Regions from separate parts of the Homo sapiens genome. Here regions 1, 2 and 4 are each linked to region 3. Evidence: promoter capture Hi-C in 16 types of primary human blood cells and fetal thymus (Javierre and others, 2016). All regions are on one chromosome and are shown on one strand. The core of a region is centred on a gene start or on the middle of the fragment in contact, and the rest is flanking DNA. Distances in the headings are between cores, read along the strand shown. Region 1 overlaps SYT5 (synaptotagmin 5). Region 2 overlaps PPP1R12C (protein phosphatase 1 regulatory subunit 12C). Region 3 holds the start of NAT14 (N-acetyltransferase 14 (putative)). Region 4 overlaps PTPRH (protein tyrosine phosphatase receptor type H).

Region 1 (3,122 bases), core at 405-2,904, 310 kb after region 3:
TATTCCTGTGGGCAATGGGACACTATCAGCACTTGTTTTAATCTAAGCATGACAAGCACATGTCTAGTTCCTGCCCATAGCAGACACCACTAATCAAACCTTCACAAACATACTGCATCTGTGTTACCACGTCTATTTCCTGCCTGTGGCAGACAGCACTAGTCAAATACTGAATCTGCTTAGCCTGTGAGAGCTCAGGTATAGCCCAAGGGACCTGTGAGCCTCCCTTGGCTTCTGAGCCTGATGGATACTGCTATCAGGGGAAGACTTCACCCACCCTTACCCCTGGCTCCTTAAGGTGCAGCCAGAAGTAGAGGAGCTGGAGCCAGCACCATCCGGGCCAGGGCAGCAGGTGGCAGACAAGCATGAGCTAGGACGACTGCAGTACTCCCTGGATTATGACTTCCAGAGTGGCCAGGTGGGTGTGGAGGAAGGGGAAGCTTTGGAGGGAGGATCCCGGGGGTTCCAACCCCTTCTGAAAGGAGCCATGGAAGGGAGGCTAAGACTAGTGTTCCCCACCTCCCCCACTGTGCCTGGGCCCTGCAGCTGCTGGTGGGCATTCTGCAAGCAATGGGATTGGCAGCCTTGGATCTTGGTGGCTCCTCGGACCCCTATGTGCGGGTCTACCTGCTGCCGGACAAACGGAGGCGGTACGAGACCAAGGTGCATCGGCAGACGCTGAACCCTCACTTTGGGGAGACCTTCGCCTTCAAGGTGAGCTCCTGCCTTCAGGCCCCGTGTTCCATAGCCTGTGCCCAGTCCCTGGAACACTAGGGACCGACCCCTTCCGCTTTTCCTGGAGGCGGCCACAGCTCAGGTGGCAGCTACCAGCTCTGGGGCTATTCCACTGGACCCTGGGCACTACTGACTCCTGGGCTGTAGCCTGGTCCTTGGGCGGTACGATTTGGGTTCCACTGACCCGTGATTTTTTTCCGCATGGATCCCTGGACTTTCCCATTTGAGTTCCCCCAACTGTTCGCTTCGACCCTCGCTGCCTCACTCCATGCCTTCCTTCTGGTTGTGCTGTGCCTCACCCTATCTCTGACTTCCTGCTCTCTACTGCGGATTCTCTGTGCACTCCAGGTCCCCTACGTGGAGCTGGGGGGCAGGGTGCTGGTCATGGCGGTGTACGACTTCGACCGCTTCTCTCGCAATGACGCCATCGGGGAGGTGCGGGTCCCTATGAGCTCCGTGGACCTGGGGCGGCCAGTGCAGGCCTGGCGGGAGCTGCAGGCGGCTCCGCGGGAGGAGGTGAGCATGCGCGGTCGCGCCCCGAGCCACGCCCCCAGGCCCAGTCCCGCCCACAACATCCTGAGCCAATCAGATCATAGGCTTTCCAGACCCTCAGGGCGGCGTGGATTGTACCCCTGAGGAGGCATGGATGTGGAGCCGGGGCTCTGGTGATGGGCCCCTCTCCTTTCAGCAGGAGAAGCTTGGGGACATCTGCTTCTCCCTCCGCTATGTCCCCACGGCCGGGAAGCTCACCGTCATCGTCCTGGAGGCTAAAAACCTGAAGAAGATGGACGTAGGAGGACTGTCAGGTGTGTGGGAAGCAAGGGAGTGGGGTGTGTGGGGATGGCGTGGGGTGGGTTCTCGTTCTGACAGTTTCTGAGCCTCGAGGGTTTCTTCGGGGACAGGGAGGACCTGGCTGCTGTGGAAGGCATGGATTTTGGCATAGAGCTAGGGAGACCCGAAGGGTGTAGGCAGTGTTTCTATGTTGGTCCAACAACCCAGCAGTGGGGAGCTATAAGACTCCTCCTTCCTCTCCCCAGATCCATACGTCAAGGTCCACCTGCTGCAGGGCGGCAAAAAGGTGCGGAAGAAGAAAACCACCATCAAGAAGAACACTCTGAACCCCTATTACAACGAAGCTTTCAGCTTCGAGGTGCCCTGTGACCAAGTCCAGGTGAGCTCAAACCTGCCCTTCTCCAAGAGCCCAGACCTTTAGTAATCGCCATTGCTAGGCGGAGGGAGACTTTTTAGCATCTCCCTAGAAACCAGGTGAGGGGGTCTGAGGTTATGCTCTCAGTCTGTTTCCTCCTATGAGGACCAGGAAGCCTCTTCCACTCCAGGAAGAGACTCCTTAAAATTGGGTGTGGGTGTCCTATCTGCTCTAAGCGGGACCGGGATGTCCCACCCCTAAGCAGTACCAGATGCTCCACCCTAAGCAGGATCAGTATGCCCCGCCCCACCAAGCGGAACCAGGATGCTCCGCCCCCAAGCAGGACCAGGATGCCCCGCCCCCAAGCAGGACCAGGATGCCCCGCCCCCAAGCGGGACCAGGATGCCCCACTCCTAAGCGGGACCAGATTCCCCACCCTAAGCAGGACCAGGATGCCCCGCCCTCCTCAGGAACGTGGTTCTAAGAAAAAGAGACCTCCCCTCACTTCTTTAGGGACGGCGCCTACCCTAGCCCGGCCCCTGTTAAAGTTCTGCAGCTTTGCGGCTCTTAGGAGGCTGCTCCCCCAGGAGGCGCCGAACACACCCGCTCCGCAACCGAGTCCTGAGGGTTCATTTCCTTAGAAACCTGGCTGCGCAGGAAGAAAGGCGCCAGAGCCTCCTCCTCGCCGCAGGCTCCGTCCCTCTCGTCTCCCACCCCCTCCCCCGTCCCGAGCTCCGGGGCCCCGAGCCCTCGGGTGGCAGCGAGAGGTACCCTCAGCCGTGAAAACGGACACCGCCCCTTCCGGGGCCTCCTCCCCTCACGCTCCTCTCTCCTCTTCCTCCCGCGCCCACCCCAGAAGGTGCAGGTGGAGCTGACCGTGCTGGACTACGACAAGCTGGGCAAGAACGAGGCCATCGGGAGGGTGGCCGTGGGGGCGGCCGCCGGCGGGGCTGGCCTGCGGCACTGGGCGGACATGCTGGCCAACCCGCGGCGGCCCATTGCCCAGTGGCACTCGCTGCGGCCCCCGGACCGAGTGAGGCTGCTGCCTGCGCCCTGACTCCCACCCCAAGCCCCCGGCCAAGCCTGGACTCTAGCCCCTGACCCCAGACTCCCGAGACCGGCCAAAGCCAAGCCAGCCCCACCCTTAAGCTTCCTCTGACGGTTACCCTCCCCCCACCTTCCACCCCAACCATCTGAACCATTCCTGTCTTCTCACCCCCAACGATGCCAATCACGACAA
Region 2 (3,122 bases), core at 93-2,592, 390 kb after region 3:
CTGGAGGTCTGGACTCCTGGGTCTGAGGGAGGAGGGGCTGGGGCCTGGACTCCTGGGTCTGAGGGAGGAGGGGCTGGGGCCTGGGCTCCTGGGTCTGAGGGAGGAGGGGCTGGGGCCTGGACTCCTGGGTCTGAGGGAGGAGGGGCTGGGGTCTGGGCTCCTGGGTCTGAGGGAGGAGGGGCTGGAGGTCTGGACTCCTGGGTCTGAGGGAGGAGGGGCTGGGGCCTGGACTCCTGGGTCTGAGGGAGGAGGGGCTGGGGTCTGGGCTCCTGGGTCTGAGGGAGGAGGGGCTGGGGCCTGGGCTCCTGGGTCTGAGGGAGGAGGGGCTGGGGTCTGGGCTCCTGGGTCTGAGGGAGGAGGGGCTGGGGCCTGGGCTCCTGGGTCTGAGGGAGGAGGGGCTGGGGTCTGGGCTCCTGGGTCTGAGGGAGGAGGGGCTGGAGGTCTGGACTCCTGGGTCTGAGGGAGGAGGGGCTGGGGCCTGGGCTCCTGGGTCTGAGGGAGGAGGGGCTGGAGGTCTGGACTCCTGGGTCTGAGGGAGGAGGGGCTGGGGCCTGGACTCCTGGGTCTGAGGGAGGAGGGGCTGGAGGTCTGGACTCCTGGGTCTGAGGGAGGAGGGGCTGGGGCCTGGACTCCTGGGTCTGAGGGAGGAGGGGCTGGAGGTCTGGACTCCTGGGTCTGAGGGAGGAGGGGCTGGGGTCTGGGCTCCTGGGTCTGAGGGAGGAGGGGCTGGGGCCTGGGCTCCTGGGTCTGAGGGAGGAGGGGCTGGGCCCTGACCCCAGCGTCCCCTGACTGTCCCCTTTCCCTGCCAGGGTGTGACTCTTACAGACCTGAAGGAGGCAGAGAAGGCTGCAGGGAAGGCCCCAGAGTCAGAGAAGCCGGCGCAGAGCCTGGTGAGAGGGGTCAGCGAGGGCGAGTGGGGTGGTGCGGGATGTCCTGCTTCCCTGACTCGCCTCCCCCTCCCGACAGGACCCTTCCCGAAGGCCCCGCGTCCCTGGAGTGGAGAACTCTGACAGCCCTGCCCAGAGAGGTGAGGTCTGCTCTCGGGGAGGTCATTCCCAGGGAATCATCCAGTTTCTCCCATAGTCTTCTTGCTTTCCTGGGGGCTTGACCCGGGGACCCAGGCACCGAGAGGGGGCTCTGGAGGTGCCTGGGCTGATTCCTGCCCCTCCCCCAGCAGAGGCGCCCGACGGGCAGGGTCCGGGACCGCAGGCGGCCAGGGAGCACCGCAAGGTCGGAAAGGAGTGGAGGGGGCCTGCGGAGGTGAGGGGCTCAGGTGGGGCCGAGCTGGTGCAGAGGGTGGGCCGGGGGGCGGGCAAAGCCCTTCCCATACCCGCTAAAGTCCCTCCCATACCCATTGAACCCCCGTCTACCTGCCCACAGGGGGAGGAGGCGGAGCCGGCTGACCGCAGCCAGGAGTCCAGGTAGGGGCGGGGTGGGAGAGGTGGGGTCTGCGTGCGGGCCGGGCCGGCCCCTGACGCGCGCTCCTCCCCTGCCCCAGCACCCTGGAGGGCGGCCCCTCGGCCCGCAGGCAGCGGTGGCAGCGGGACCTCAACCCAGAACCTGAGCCAGAATCGGAAGAGCCAGACGGAGGCTTTAGGACGGTGCGATCCCACCCCTCCGTCGGGGCTTTGCCTGCTGGGTGCCCAGCTTCCTGGCTTCCCCGCCCCCCCAGCATCGCCCCATCCTCCACCTGACCCTCCTCTACCTGACCCCCAGCTGTATGCAGAGCTGCGCAGGGAGAACGAGCGGCTTCGCGAGGCCCTGACCGAGACCACGCTGCGGCTGGCGCAGCTCAAGGTGGAGCTGGAGCGGGCCACGCAGGTAAGGGCGCCGAGGCCAGGGTCACGGGAACTGGCAGGGCCGCCTGGGTGGGGCTTAGACTGCTGGGAGGTAGAGCCTGGCCTGGGGGTGCCGGCGGGGCTGGGCTTCACTTGAGGGGCGGGGCCGAGATCTCGGAGGCGGAGTCTGAGCGAGGGGATGGGGCTGTGGGCCTGCCGGTGGCGGGGCCTGGCCCGTGGGGGAAGGGCTTGTGGGCTGCCTAGTGGGCGGGCGGGTGCCCAGCAGGAGCCTAGGACCCTTCAGAGCAGTGCTGGCTTCTTCTGCTGACCCCTGTGCTTTCTGTGTCCTCACCAGAGGCAAGAACGCTTCGCTGAGAGGCCAGCCCTCCTGGAACTGGAGAGATTCGTGAGTAGGGGCAGTGGGGATGGGGGCCAGAGGCGTCCCCAGCCTCACATCCCTAAGTTTGGACCAAGGGAGCCACATTGCCCTTCCCAGCTGGCCCCTGGCCTTCCCCTGCCCTCCTCAGCCTCACTCAGTTTCTGCACTTTCCCTGTTCATTCCAGGAGCGCAGGGCCCTGGAACGCAAGGCCGCAGAGCTGGAGGAGGAGCTGAAGGTGGGGGCTGTGGGGGCTGTGGGCAGAGGGCCGAGGGTGGGTGGGGGTGCAACCCGCCAGGGCTGCCCAGCTGACCCTTGCCGTCCCCCAGGCCCTGTCTGACCTCCGCGCTGACAACCAGCGCCTCAAGGATGAGAATGCAGCGTTGATCCGCGTCATCAGCAAACTCTCCAAGTGACCCGGAGGGACTTTCCCGCACCCGTATTTATACAGCTGCTTCTGCCACACGCACCCCTTCCCCCGTGTGAACACGAGTGACAGGGCTCCGGGGGAAGTCTCAGAGAAGCCATAGCCCCCCTGGGACCTCCGGACTGGGAGGGGAGCAGAGTCCCCAGGAGCCGAGGGGGCCACCCGAGGCCAGGATGGAGGTGGGAGGCCGAGCCAAGCAGGGGGACGTTGCCAGAGGGGACCAGGGCCAGAGACGGGACCAGGAAGGAACTGAGGACCAAGAAGTGCAAGGATCAGTAGCCAGGACCAGAGTGGCCGCCTGGAGGTCCCCATCTCACGTGTGATGCCACCCCGTCACCCCTCCCCTCCTGAGCAGGGATCCAAGAATGTGCCAAGAGTCCCGCCAGCCTCAGCCAGGTGGGCCTGTATATAGGGTCCATGTGCAATAGGGAGGGACGTCTTCTATTTTTTGCTGCCCCCTCCCCGCCCACTGTCTGGGGCAGGGGGAGAAGGTATTTTCGAGATAAAGCACAGGCACCACAAATAAAAGTCGTGAAGTTG
Region 3 (3,258 bases), core at 347-2,846:
GGGCCTCCGCGAAGGCCAGCAGCCTCCTGCCCACGCCCCGGCGGCGGTGCCAGCGAGAGACAGACAGGCGGGTGACCCGGGCCCCGTCCCCTGCATTTGTGCCAGGGGCCAGAGCCAGGACCCCACACACGTCACCGGAGCCCCGCACGGCCACCCAGGGGCCCCCCAGGCCACCCGGCGGAGGCAGCGAGCCCCATCGGGCCCGCAGGCCCAGCTTCACGGCGGCCACAGCCAGGAACACCGGCAGGAGGAGGGCCAGGGCGAAGGAAGCCAGGACAAAGCGCAGGCCGCTGCTGGCCGCCGCCAGGAGGAGCAGGGCCGGCGGCCGTGTCAAGGCATGGAGGGCCACGCGGTTTTCCGTGTCCTTCACGCCGGCCTGTGGGCAGGAGGGGTGGCTCAGCCATCCGAAACGCTAGGGCCTCCTGGACAAAGAGAGGAGGTAGACCCTGCCCGGGGCGGGGTGAGAGCTCCCAAATGGGAAGGGAAGGCAGCACAGTCCGATGTTCAGTGTGGCACACTGGGTATGGAGTGAATGAATGAACGAGAGCGAATGATGGATGGATGAGTGAATTAGGAGCTGTGGGGGCACTCAATTCAGTAGCAATGCCGCAGTGAGGCCCCAGGGAAGTAAGGACAGGGAGGTTGCCTCAGGCTGGAGTGGAGGCTGGAGGGAGGCTGCTGGGCTAGGTTGGGGTGCTGGGCTGTGCTTTGAAGAGTTGGGGTCCGAGGCACAGAGCTGGCTGTTGTGCTGGCGTGCACAGCCGACTGGAGATGGGAGACCAGGGAGGGCGTTGGTGCTGGGGTCCCAGTAGGGCTGGGGGGGTGAGCCCCCACCTGCCACACCTGCTGTGGTTTTCAGCAGCAGGGCGGCTGAGGCTCAGGAGGAAAAGATCCCGCTCCAGGGGTCCAGGCTGGCTCAGGTGGGTGGGAGGGGGTGGCTGAATCCACTTGCAATTCCCCCACTGCAGCCACTCCCAGGCCCCCTGGGGCCCCTGCCTCTCACCTTCAGCATCTCCAGCACCAGGGGCTTCTCATCTTCCCTCATCTCCCGCACTGACAGGTGGCTGGGGGCCATGGCAACCCCCAGGCCCCGGCCCCCCAGAAGGGAGCTGGCGTCGTGCACCTGGTGAGAACATAAGTAGGTCAGCGTCAGGGGGGCACCTCTGTCCCCAAAGCTCCCCCGAGGGGTAGGGAGCAGCAACGGCACTTCCCAGATCAGGACACTGAGAACCCTCGGGGCCCCCAAGCGAGGATCTCGGCAGGACAGGCGCCCCCCACAATACTCAGCGACCTTGCTAAAGTCTCCCGGGATCCCCCCTCCCCCGTATTATTCAGCGATCTACACTCCCAAACGCGCTGCGGACGCCAACACTGCAGCACGGGGCTCCCTCCCAGGCACTGGGGTCCACGAACACCCTCCCCACATGCCAGAGAACGGACCACGCTCGCTCCACCCCGGTCCCCAGCGCCCCCTCCCCCACAGTCGTCCCCGTCCCGCGCCACAAGAACAAGGACCAGCAAGCACCTGCACCGGTCGCCTTTGGTCCTTCGACAAGGTTTCGGGAGCGGGTCTGGAAGGGGGTCGCGGGCGGAAGTGACGTCAGACCGCGCGCGGTGGGGCGGGGCGGCGCCCGCTCCGGGCCGTAGCAACCGTTGCTAAGCTCCCCGGAGGGCGGGCTGGGAGGAACCGAGCTGTGACCCTGCGGAGGGCCGGGAAGCGACCTCTCCTATCCCTAGAGAAGGAGCAACGGGGAAAGGGGACCTGGGGAAGAACGGGAGCGGAAGCCGGCAGGAGACGGGCGGCGGGCTGGGGACCAGCGCGAGCTCCCGCCCCACGTTCCCTCGTTGCTGAGCAACCTGAGCGCCGGGCGGCGACGCCAGCGCGTGGATTCTCATCCGTGCCGGGGCCTTCGCGGGAGGAGCCGGCCACGCTCAGCATCCTGGCGCCCGACTCCCCCATCCCCAGGGACCCCACTCCACCCACGGGGCGCCCGGGGTCGCAGAACCCTTCCGCATAAGGATCCCCCTACTTCTCACACGAGGGGGGCAGCGGGGCGACCTACAGTGAACAAGTAGCACTCCCTGGAGTCTGATGTCACCACCTCCCCACTATAATGACCCCTGCGGCCTTTTTTGGTTTCAGGACAGGGGAACTGAGCCCTACGTAGTGGCTGGCCCCAGGATGCAGAACAAGCCATCTGCGACCCAGGACGCAAGACTTAAGACTCCACGCTCCCAGGCGGGGGCTAGGACCATGACTTTGCCCCCTTCCCTCCCCCCAGGAAAACAAAACACAGGCGGGGAGACTCGGGTCTTTATTAGCAAGCCCAGCCTGCGGCACCCTGCCCCGCCCCGGCTGGCAGTGAGTCGGGGTCTCTGTGCGGGGCGGGAGGGGAATCACTGCCTCTCCTCAAAACGTGTGCACCAGCTGGACTGCGGGTAGAGTCTGGACAATCTGGATGGAGGGCAGGCCCTGAGGGGTCATAACACCAGGCCCAGCTCCTGCGGGGACCACTTGCACCATCTGGGAGGCTGGAGCCCCGGGGAGCCCCGCGGGGCCCGAGGCTGGGCCTGACGGCGGTGGGGCCAGGAGCTGCAGCGTGGCGGTGCCTCCTCCAGTGTTGCTGCTGTCCAGCAGCTCAGTGGCTGGGGCGCTGCGGATGATGAGGAGTTTCTGTCCGGGTGGGCCGGTGGCAGGCGGCTCCGTCAGCCCAGGAGGAAGTGTTTCTACCTCCTGTACGCAGAGTCGAGTCTGTTCGCCATCGGCCCCGCTCAGCACCAGCACGCTCTGCAAGCCCTCGTCCGTCTGGAGTGTCTCAAAGAGGACATCCTGGACCACACCAGTGCTGGCCTCGCCATCCCCCGCCTCCCCGGGGCCCGGGCCAGTGAGCAACTCCTCAGCTGCCCCGCTCTGAACAACCAGCAGGTTGGGTGCCTCAGTAGCCACAGCTCCCCCACTGGAATTGGAGAGCTGGCCGGCCACGGGCTGGAGCTGGACCGTGGTCACCTCCTGTGCTGGCTGGAGCTGGACCGTGGTTACTTCCTGTGCTGGCTGGAGCTGGACTGTGGTCACCTCCTGCGCTGGCTGGAGCTGGACCGTGGTTACTTCTGGGGCTGGTCGGAGGGGCTGGAGCTGCACCCCACTCATTTCCTGTGGCCCTGCCTCCCCACCCCCCACATTCTGCAGAACGATGAGGCTCTGCCCTGTCCCGCTGGCCCCAGCGCTGGCCGCTCCCTGCACCCCTAGACCCCCAGGGC
Region 4 (3,275 bases), core at 187-2,686, 290 kb after region 3:
GACAACCAAAAGCGTCTCCAGACATTGCCCGGTGTCTCTTTGGGAGCAAAATCACCCTTGTTGAGAACCACTAGTCTAAGCTAAGGAAGGCAAGAATCACTTTTTTGTTTTGTTTCGTTTTGTTCTTTTTTGAGACAGGGTCTCACTCTGTTGCCCAGGCTGGAGTGCAGTGATACGATCATGCCCACCACAGCCTCCACCTCCCAGGCTCAAGTGATCCTCCTGCCTCAGTCCCCTGAGTAGCTGGGACTACAGGCATGTACTACCATGCCCAGCTATTTTGTTGGGGTTCTTTTTGTTTTGTTTTGCTTTCTTTTTCTTTTTTTTTTTTTTGAGACAGAGTCTCACTCTATCACCCAGTCTGGAGTGCAGTCGTGCAATCTCAGCTCACTGCAGCCTCCACCTCCCGGGTTCAAGTGACTCTTATGCTCAGCCTCCTGAGTAGTTGGGATGACAGGTGTGCACCACCATACCCAGCTAACTTTTGTTTTTTTAGTAGAGACTGGGTTTTGTTATGTTGCCCAGGCTGGTCTCAAACTCCTGGGCTCAAGTGATCCACCCACCTCAGCCTCCCAAAGTGTTGGGATTACAGGGGTGAGCCACCATGCCTGGCCAGGAGTCACTCTTCAGCAACCAGGTCACCTGTGAAAATGATGGATAGTTGACCCTTGAACAATTGTCCCCTACACAGTAGAAAATCTGCATATAACAGCCGGGCATGGTGGCTCATGCCTATAATCCCAGCACTTTGGGAGGCTGAGGCAGGTGGATCACGAGGTCAGGAGATCAGGACCACCCTGGCTAACACGGTGAAACCCCAACTCTACTAAAAATACAAAAAATTAGCCAGGAGTGGTGGCGGGCACCGGTAGTCCCAGCTACTCAGGAGGCTGAGGCAGGAGAATGGCGTGAACCCGGGAGGCAGAGGTTGCAGTGAGCCGAGGTCGCACCACTGCACTGCAGCCTGGGTGACAGAGCAAGACTCTGTCTCAGAAAAAGAAAAAGAAAAAAAAATCTGCACATAACTTTTGACTCCCCCAAAACTTAACTACTAATAGCCTACTCTTGATTGGAAGCCTTACCAATAACATAAACAACATACATTTCATCTGTAATATGTACTACATACTGTATTCTTTTTGTTTGTTTGTTTGTTTTTGAGACAGAGTCTTGCTCTGTTACCCAGGCTGGAGTGCAGTAGTGTGATCTGGGCTCACTGCAAGCTCCACCTCCCGGGTTCACGCCATTCTCCTGCCTCAGCCTCCCGAGTAGCTGGGACTACAGGCGCCCACCACCACGCCCTGCTAATTTTTTGTATTTTTAGTGGAGATGGGGTTTCACCGTGTTAACCAGGATGGTCTCGATCTCCTGACCTCGTGATGTGCCCATCTCCGCCTCCCAAAGTGCTGGGATTACAGGCGTAAGCCACCGCGCCCGGCCGTACTATATGCTGTATTCTTATAATCAAGTAGCTAAAGAAAAAAATGTTACTAAGAATATCCTAAGGAAGAGAAAATGTACTCGCTATTTATTAAGTAGATCATCATAAAGGTCTTCCTCCTTGTAGTCTTCGCGTTGAGTAGGCGGAGGAGGAGGAGGAGGTAGGAGAGGGGCTGGTCTTGCTGTCTCAGGGGTGGAGGAAAATCCATGGGTAAGCGCGTAAGTATAACTGGACCGACGCAATTCACACCGTGTGATGTTCGGGGGTCAGCTGTCTTTGGACCAGGCTCCTGGGGAAGAGGAAAGGCTGGGCAGGGTTGGAGACAGATGAGCAGCTCAGACCTGCGCTCTGAGGGTTCCCGATGCCTCCTCCCCACAGGGGTCATTGCCGGAGCCTTTGTGGGCATCCTCCTGTTTCTCATCCTCGTGGGCCTGCTGATTTTCTTCCTGAAGAGGAGGTGAGACTCAGCACAGGGCTGACCGCCTGGAGGGTGGGGGCTGGAGAAGAAGGAGGAGGACCGCTGGTTGCAGCCTCACCCCCTGAGCCTCTCATCCTAACGTCCTTTTCCCAGGAATAAGAAGAAGCAGCAGAAACCAGAACTCAGGGATCTGGTCTTTAGGTGAGCAGAAGGTCTGGGGGGTGCATTGGAAAGAATCTGGTCAAATCAAGGGGTGTTTGCTGGCTGCCAGCTAGGTCAGAGGGTGGATCAATGCATTTACCCACAAAGGTCTCAGAAGGGGCCCATGCCTCTGCGACAGGGACCACGGCCCTTCCATCGTGACTCACTCCCCAAGCAGCCTGGGCCAGCGAATTCAGTTCTGGTCTCAACTCCCGGACATTCATTCATTCAGCAGATATCAGCTGAGCACCAGCATGTATCAGGCACTGTTCCAGGTGCCAAACAAACAGCAAATGAAACCAAGATTCTTGCCCGCCAGGGGCTTATATTCTAGTACAGGAGATATCAATAAACAAGATTGCTGGGTGCGGTGGCTCATGCCTGTAATCCCAGCACTTTGGGAAGCTGAGGCAGGCAGACCACAAGGTCAGGAGATCAAGACCATCCTGGCTAACGTGGTGAAACCCTGTCTCCACTAAAAAATACAAAAAATTAGCCAGGCTTGGTGGCGGGCACCTATAGTCCCAGCTACTTGGGAGGCTGAGGCAGGAGAATGGCGTGAACCTGGGAGGTAGAGCTTGCAGTGAGTTGAGATCACGCCACTGCACTGCAGCCTGGGTGACAGATCGAGACTCCGTCTCAAAAAAATAATAGTAATAAAAAATTAAAAAAGATCATAAAAAATATGATATAAACTTTCAGACAGGGCCAGGCATGGTGGCTCACGCCTGTAATCCCAGCTACGCAGGTGGCTGGGGCAGGAGAATCACTTGAACCCGGGAGCAGAGGTTGCAGTGAGCTGAGATTGCACCATTGCACTCCAGCCTGGGCAACAGAGTGAGACTCTGTCTCAAAAAAAAATTATATATATATATAATTTATAATATATATAATATATAATATATAAATTTATAATATATAATATATTATATGTTATATATATAATATATTATATATTATATATATTATACAATATAAAATATACATTATATATAATATAATATATAAATTATATAATATATAATATATAAATTTATAATATATAAAATATATAAATAAACTTGGAGACAAGGCAAAAGGAGGGGATAGGAAGGGTAGAGGAATATTGTGATATTCTTTTTTTTTTTTTTTGAGGTGGAGTCTTGCTCTGTCACCCAGGCTGAAGTGCAGTGGCATGATCTCGGCTCACCGCAACCTCCGCCTCCCGGGTTCAAG

The links. The method cuts DNA at HindIII sites, captures the fragments that hold promoters and counts their contacts. A CHiCAGO score of 5 or more calls a contact.
Region 1: a fragment that was not itself captured here is called in contact with the fragment with the promoter of NAT14 in region 3 in 12 of 17 cell types (total CD4 T cells, activated CD4 T cells, total CD8 T cells and 9 more); the score reaches 12.4 in total CD4 T cells.
Region 2: a fragment that was not itself captured here is called in contact with the fragment with the promoter of NAT14 in region 3 in 3 of 17 cell types (naive CD4 T cells, non-activated CD4 T cells and total CD8 T cells); the score reaches 11.3 in naive CD4 T cells.
Region 4: a fragment that was not itself captured here is called in contact with the fragment with the promoter of NAT14 in region 3 in 4 of 17 cell types (M0 macrophages, M2 macrophages, naive CD4 T cells and 1 more); the score reaches 6.5 in M0 macrophages.

Annotation. Positions count from the first base shown.
Region 1 is chr19:55,173,301-55,176,422 of GRCh38, reverse strand. It overlaps SYT5 (synaptotagmin 5), which reads left to right. Exons shown (of 9, transcript NM_003180.3): 4 at 299-418; 5 at 547-714; 6 at 1,084-1,251; 7 at 1,424-1,541; 8 at 1,773-1,906; 9 at 2,739-3,122. The coding sequence ends at 2,939. Among named protein-coding and RNA genes, the nearest start is that of SYT5, 5.4 kb to the left of the region's middle. The HindIII fragment of the contact is 439 bases long and covers 1,435-1,873 here.
Region 2 is chr19:55,090,921-55,094,042 of GRCh38, reverse strand. PPP1R12C (protein phosphatase 1 regulatory subunit 12C) reads left to right here. Exons shown (of 22, transcript NM_017607.4): 14 at 810-890; 15 at 967-1,027; 16 at 1,175-1,260; 17 at 1,381-1,421; 18 at 1,499-1,601; 19 at 1,717-1,821; 20 at 2,134-2,184; 21 at 2,343-2,393; 22 at 2,485-3,122. The coding sequence ends at 2,571. Among named protein-coding and RNA genes, the nearest start is that of EPS8L1, 17 kb to the right of the region's middle. The HindIII fragment of the contact is 7,228 bases long and covers 1-3,122 here.
Region 3 is chr19:55,483,526-55,486,783 of GRCh38, reverse strand. It overlaps NAT14 (N-acetyltransferase 14 (putative)), which reads right to left and starts at 1,596. Exons shown (of 3, transcript NM_020378.4): 1 at 1,526-1,596; 2 at 1,004-1,123; 3 at 1-376. The coding sequence starts at 1,075. It overlaps ZNF628 (zinc finger protein 628), which reads right to left. Exons shown (of 3, transcript NM_033113.3): 3 at 2,297-3,258. The coding sequence ends at 2,411. RefSeq lists an enhancer at 957-1,286 and a silencer at 1,387-1,806. The HindIII fragment of the contact is 21,455 bases long and covers 1-3,258 here.
Region 4 is chr19:55,190,286-55,193,560 of GRCh38, reverse strand. It overlaps PTPRH (protein tyrosine phosphatase receptor type H), which reads left to right. Exons shown (of 20, transcript NM_002842.5): 11 at 1,820-1,898; 12 at 2,013-2,060. Among named protein-coding and RNA genes, the nearest start is that of SYT5, 12 kb to the right of the region's middle. The HindIII fragment of the contact is 4,918 bases long and covers 1-3,275 here.